Regions from separate parts of the Homo sapiens genome. Here region 2 is linked to region 1. The links are contacts of gene promoters, found by promoter capture Hi-C in blood cells and fetal thymus (Javierre and others, 2016). All regions are on one chromosome and are shown on one strand. Each heading gives the region's core, a stretch centred on a gene start or on the middle of the fragment in contact. The rest is flanking DNA. Distances are from core to core; before and after follow the strand shown. Region 1 holds the start of ZNRF2 (zinc and ring finger 2). Region 2 overlaps GGCT (gamma-glutamylcyclotransferase).

Region 1 (3,027 bases), core at 293-2,792:
ATAATAATAATAACATGATCAGAGCTATGAAGGAGGTATTGTACAGCACTGAGTGGGAACACTGAAGTCAGTCTGTGATGCTGGGATGGGGGAGGAGGTGGCAGGAAACATCTATAAGGAGAGGGCACTTAACCAAAATGATGACCATATCTTAACATGATACTGCATATAAAGCACTGGGTACCTTTGTTTTTCCATGTATATATGTGTGTTTGTGTACACAGATACACGTCTTTATATGTATACATATATTCTCCATTTGTTTAAAAACTTGATTCCCATACCCTAAGAGTGATGAAAATCATTACATAAATGACTTATTGCAAATAGTGAAAAGATGACAAAGTATTTCTGTAGTTTTATAAAACACCACTTGCTATTATTATTTTCAAGTAGAGACTAGACATTTTCATAATGGGAGTCTCAGAGCAGGCTGTTCCCTGGGTATCCAGACCCTGCTCTGCCGTGAAGAGACCACACCAACACTGAGGAAGGCACTGAGGAGAATTTTATTACATTTTAGAGAAGTTATAGGATTTTAAAGAGGCAGGTGCCCTAGGATTTAACACAAACAGTTCAGGTAAGAAACCTAAAGTCGGCCTGGTGCGGTACGTCACGCCTGTAATCCCAGCACTTTGGAAGGCCGAGGCAGGTGGATCACTTGAGGACAGGAGTTCAAGACTAGCCTGGCCAACATGGTGAAAGACCGTCTCTACTAAAAATACAAAAATTAGCCAGGCGTGGTGGCACGTGCCTGTAATCCCAGCTACTCTGGAGGATGAGGCAGGAGAATCGCTCGAACTCGGGAGGCGGAGGTTGCAGTGAGCCGAGATCACACCATTGCACTCCAGCCTGGGTGACTGAGCGAGACTCCGTCTCAAAAACAAAAACAAAAATAAACCTAAAGTCCAAAAAAGTAAAATAATTTGCTCACTACAGATAATTTAGTTTGGTGTTGGGCCTAGATTCTAGGTTTTGTGAGTCAGGTGCAGCGTTCCTGGCACCACAGTATTTGCCCTACCACAGAGGGTCAACCTGGATTATCCCGAGTTCTTCCAACTCTGCGCTTCCTCCCAGGTTGGTGTTTCATGAGTAAGTCTGAGATCAAGCTGGCTTTTGAGCTTCTGTTTTTTTTTTTAATCAGTGTGTAACACCAACACCCACCGAAACCAAACGGCTCTGGGCAGAGGACACAGCCATTCACGCCCCCTGCCAGGAAAAGCTGCAGCTGACACAGGCTCCTACAGCGTCGGCGGGCCACGTGCGGGAGGAGGGGCCGCCTTCTGGTTGGCGCCCGGTGTCCGTTCCTCCTATCGGCGTAGGCCCCGCGAGGAAGACAAGGGCGCGCCCTGGCTGGGAGGGCGTGGCCAGAGACCTGTCCATCACCGAGTCCACGAGTGGCAGCACCTACCACACCGCAGTACCTTGGCGAGGCGGAGCAGGGGCAGGCAGGTCGCGGAAGGGGGAGGCGGAGCAAGGCCGGCGGGAGCCAATCGGCCTGGCGGCACGAGGGGGCGGGGGCGGGGTCAACGCGCGCGACCCAAACACACGGGCCGGGCGCACCCTGCAGCCGCGCCGCTCCGCGGCCTTCCGGCGCGGGGCCGGGGAACCTCCTCCCCATCTGCGCACCCCCCGCCTTCGCGGCCCAGATCCTCCCGCCAGCCCGGCCCCTCCTTCGCAGGGGGAGCGAGGCGACGGTTGCCGGGAAGCGCGCGCCACCTCTCCCTCCCATTTTTCGTTCTCCCCTCGCGCGCCACCCGTTTTTCCTCTTTCTCCGTTAATAACAGCTGGGTGGCTGGGGGAGGAGGGAAGGTGGCCCCGGCGGAGTCTGGGCGGGCGCCTCCCACTCAGCCGCCAGCCGCCGTGGGAGCCGGAGGATGGCGGCGGTAGCAGCGGCCGCCCGAGAGGAGGCGGTGCCGAGATCGGGGGCGCCGAGCGCGGCAGCAGAGAGCGGTAGCGGCCCGTCGTGGCGCACCAGAACCGAAACCAGCGGCAGCCGCACGGCCACTTGAGCCGCCCCTTCCTGCTGGAGCCAGCGAGGGGTGCCTGCAGCCGGGACCCCTTCCTCTCCGCGTCTCCTCGTCTCCCGCGCCCGCGTCAGGCCGTCGGCCTCGCCCGCCGCCCCAAGAAGAGCGCGCCGGGCGCCGACTGCCCCTCTGGACGCCGGGCGGCGGCCCTGGACGTGCGGGGGCCTCTCTGGGCCGGCCGCGGCGCCTGGGCCCTGCCCTCTAGCTCCCGCGCTCGCTCCCGCCCTCCCGGCTCTCGGGGCGCAGCGCGCGGGCCCGGCCCGGGGCAGGGCGGACATGGGCGCCAAACAGAGCGGCCCGGCCGCCGCTAACGGCCGCACGCGCGCGTACTCGGGCTCGGATCTACCTTCCAGTAGCAGCGGAGGCGCCAATGGGACCGCGGGCGGCGGCGGGGGCGCTCGGGCCGCCGCCGCGGGGAGGTTCCCGGCTCAGGTGCCCAGCGCGCACCAGCCCAGCGCCTCCGGCGGCGCCGCGGCGGCCGCGGCGGCCCCGGCAGCCCCGGCGGCCCCGCGCAGCCGCTCCCTCGGCGGGGCCGTGGGGAGCGTGGCGTCGGGGGCCCGCGCGGCGCAGTCCCCCTTCAGCATCCCGAACAGCAGCAGCGGCCCGTACGGCTCGCAGGACTCGGTGCACAGCAGCCCTGAGGACGGCGGCGGCGGCCGGGACCGGCCGGTGGGCGGGAGCCCCGGCGGGCCGCGCCTGGTGATCGGCTCCTTACCAGCTCACCTCTCGCCGCACATGTTTGGAGGTACGGACCCCTCTCCGCGCACCCGCGCTCGGTCCTCCCGCGGCTGCACGTGGGCCGTGGCCGCCGGCTATTTTTACCCTTCTCCTTTTCTCCTTCTGCCGGGGCGCCGGGGGCTGCCTCCCGGACCAGCCCGCGTCGGTCTCCATCCTGGAAGAAACCCGGCGCTTAACACCGGCGGTGCCGCTACCGCATAGACGCGTGGTTTTGTTTTTAAACATCCTGAGCACCCTCACCTCAGCGGCTGCCCAGTAGAGA
Region 2 (2,804 bases), core at 287-2,786, 210 kb after region 1:
CTCCTATCCCAGTTTCTTTTTATAGTCTAAAAACAAGGAATCACCCAAGTAAGATACTCCTTCAGAGCACTGCTGAAAATGGATCAAACGTGGAGATCCCCCAGATCCCTGTTCTCAAGTGTTAAAAATATTTTATATTAGCACATAGAATACCCTTAGATATATTCTGTTATGTTCTAAAGAGTTTGTGTTTCCCCCTTTTTGATGATGTCTTCAATTTCTTCTGAGACCTTTCCTGTATAGTCATTTGGTTCTATTGCTTTTAACTTCTCTTGATACTCCAGCGGCAAACCATTTTCTTTTGCACCCATGCAAATAATCTGGAAATGGTTAAAACAAACAGACAAAAAAACCCTTTCAGTTAGGAATATAATTTAACGTACCATACCACAGCTTTATTTGCCTTCTCAAAGTATGAAGTATTAGCTTTCAGATAACTCTAGAATAAACAATTATATAAAATAGAATACCATCATTCCTCTCACACTGAGCATGAATGTGTATGGAGTTTTCAAAGCCAAATGAAGCATCCTCATGGAATATCAACTTTCTCAATATATGATTTTAAATATTTTAATATTAAGACAAACATATCTATATAAAATTTATATGACCTTTTAAGAAAAAAAATACCATTCTTCAAAAAAAATTTAAAGTTTACAGAGAGCAGTTTCGGTTACAACGCCAGAGGTTACCCTTGCTCTGAATTGGACATGGGGGAATAAATGGCAACTGTGTTTAGCGGTACTTTCATAATCTATACCAGGCTAATTTCTCTAGGTTTCATACTAAAAAATTCCAAACGAGGCCTAGGAACCAGATTACCTATTACAGGTGCCATGACCTGATTGGGCCTGCCAACAGAGAGCTAAGCTTAGGTTCTGAACAGGAATTTTGGGGTCTCTATCCCACATTCTTGTCTTGTGCTTGCAAGGGTGATTTCCCTGATTCTGAAAGGCAGTGTGACGTTTCTTTCTCCACCTAGGGATGAAAAACATTTCAGCAGTAGAAAGTATGTTTTTTTCCCCTATAAAAATGAATCTTGGTATTCATAAAATACTGTGTTACGGGGAGAAAAACATTACAAAAGCATATATATATATATATAGATACACACACACATATACATATATATACATATATGTATATATATATAGAAAGAGAAAGAGAGAGAGACTAAATCTATTAAAATACACTCATAAATATTCTTTCCTACTTTAATACATGTCTACATCATAAAAATGAAGCAAAAATTTATTGCCAGGCAAAAGAAAGAAAGAAAGAGAGAAAGAAAAAAAGAAAGGGAGAAAATACATGTCTAGAATTCTGACTCACATATATTTCTAAAAATTTTTTTAATAAATAGTTTTAAAAACATAATTCTATCATTACACATAATATTTTTGAATCTGTACATTAGGTAAATAACTATCATTTTTATATTTAAAAACATTTTTATTAAAATAAATGTTTACATGGAATTTAAAACATACAAAACCTTTTATTTCTTTTTTAGAAATTTTTTTGAGAGTGTCTCACTATCACCCAGGCTGGAGTGTGGTGGCCTGATCTCAGCTCACTGCAACCTCCACCTCCTGGGTTCAAGCAATTCTTATGCCTCAGCCTTCCAAGTAGCTGGGATTACAGGTGCTCGCCACCACGGCCTCCTAGTTTTGTATTTTTAGTAGAGATGAGGTTTCACCACGTTGGCTAGGCTGGTCTCAAACTCCTAACTTCAGGTGATCTGCCCGCCCCAGCCTTCCAAAGTGGTGGCATTACAGGCATGAGCCACCACGTTGGGCCTAAAGTCTTTTAAAAACAATATATTCTTTAGTTTCTCTCAGTGAAATTTAAAAAGTAATCACCACCAGTCTGTAAATAGCTTACCTTTTTATACTGTGGGGATGGGGGAGCACTTTCGTAATTTGTCATCAGATAACTTCGACAGGTTATTTCTTTTCCTTCTTGAGTTGCAACTTTAACTTCTATTACAACATACATTCCACTTTTAACCCCTTCTTGCCTGAAACCAGAACAGCCAAATTTTAACCACATTTGACCTAGCCAATTTAGCTCACTGGGTAAGGTCTTTTTATAATAGTCAAGATGGTGTATGGGATTAAACATTTAACTACATCTGAACATACTTGCTCCCTATGTATTTGGGATAGAGAATATATAAATTTACCACATCAAAAGTAAGCTTAGCATTTAGGCTGGGTACGGTGGCTCACATCTGTAATCCCAGCACTTTGGGAGGCTGAGGTGGATCACTTGAGGTCAGGAGTTCAAGACCAGCCTGGCCAACATGGTGAAACGCCATCTCCACTAAAATACAAAAATTAGCCGGGCGTGGTGGTGGGCGCCTATAGTCCCAGCTACTCAATAGGCTGAGGCTAGAGAATCACTTGAACCCGGGAGGTGGAGGTTGCAGTGAGCCGAGATTGCACTGTGGCAATCCAGGCTGGGAGACAGCAAGACTCCATCTCAAAAAGAAAAAAAAAAAGGCCGGGTGCAGTGGCTCACACCTGTAATCCTAGCACTTTGGGAGGCCGAGGTGGGTGGATCATCTGAGGTCAGGAGTTCGAGGCCAGCCTGACCAACATGGAGAAACCTTGTCTCTACTAAAAAAAAAACACACAAAAAATTAGTCCGACATGGTGGTGCATGCCTGTAATCCCAGCTACTCGGGAGGCTGAGGCGGGAGAATCACTGGAACCCGGGAGGCAGAGGTTGGGGTGAGCCGAGATCACGCCATTGCACTCTAGCCTGGGCAACAAGAGCGAGACTCCGTTACAAAAAAA

What was found. The method cuts DNA at HindIII sites, captures the fragments that hold promoters and counts their contacts. A CHiCAGO score of 5 or more calls a contact.
Region 2: a contact is called between a fragment that was not itself captured here and the fragment with the promoter of ZNRF2 in region 1, in 9 of 17 cell types (naive CD8 T cells, total B cells, naive CD4 T cells and 6 more). The highest score is 11.2, in naive CD8 T cells.

What each region holds. Positions count from the first base shown.
Region 1 is chr7:30,283,055-30,286,081 of GRCh38, forward strand. It overlaps ZNRF2 (zinc and ring finger 2), which reads left to right and starts at 1,543. Exons shown (of 5, transcript NM_147128.4): 1 at 1,543-2,772. The coding sequence starts at 2,304. It overlaps LOC124901607 (a long non-coding RNA gene), which reads left to right. Exons shown (of 3, transcript XR_007060274.1): 3 at 1,145-1,200. LOC105375218 (a long non-coding RNA gene) reads right to left here. Exons shown (of 4, transcript NR_136267.1): 1 at 3,006-3,027. RefSeq lists silencers at 1,389-1,818, 1,829-1,878, 1,959-2,348, 2,429-2,508, 2,659-2,788. The HindIII fragment of the contact is 18,269 bases long and covers 1-3,027 here.
Region 2 is chr7:30,496,916-30,499,719 of GRCh38, forward strand. It overlaps GGCT (gamma-glutamylcyclotransferase), which reads right to left. Exons shown (of 4, transcript NM_024051.4): 3 at 1,888-2,023; 4 at 1-320. The coding sequence ends at 177. Among named protein-coding and RNA genes, the nearest start is that of GGCT, 6.5 kb to the right of the region's middle. The HindIII fragment of the contact is 1,330 bases long and covers 872-2,201 here.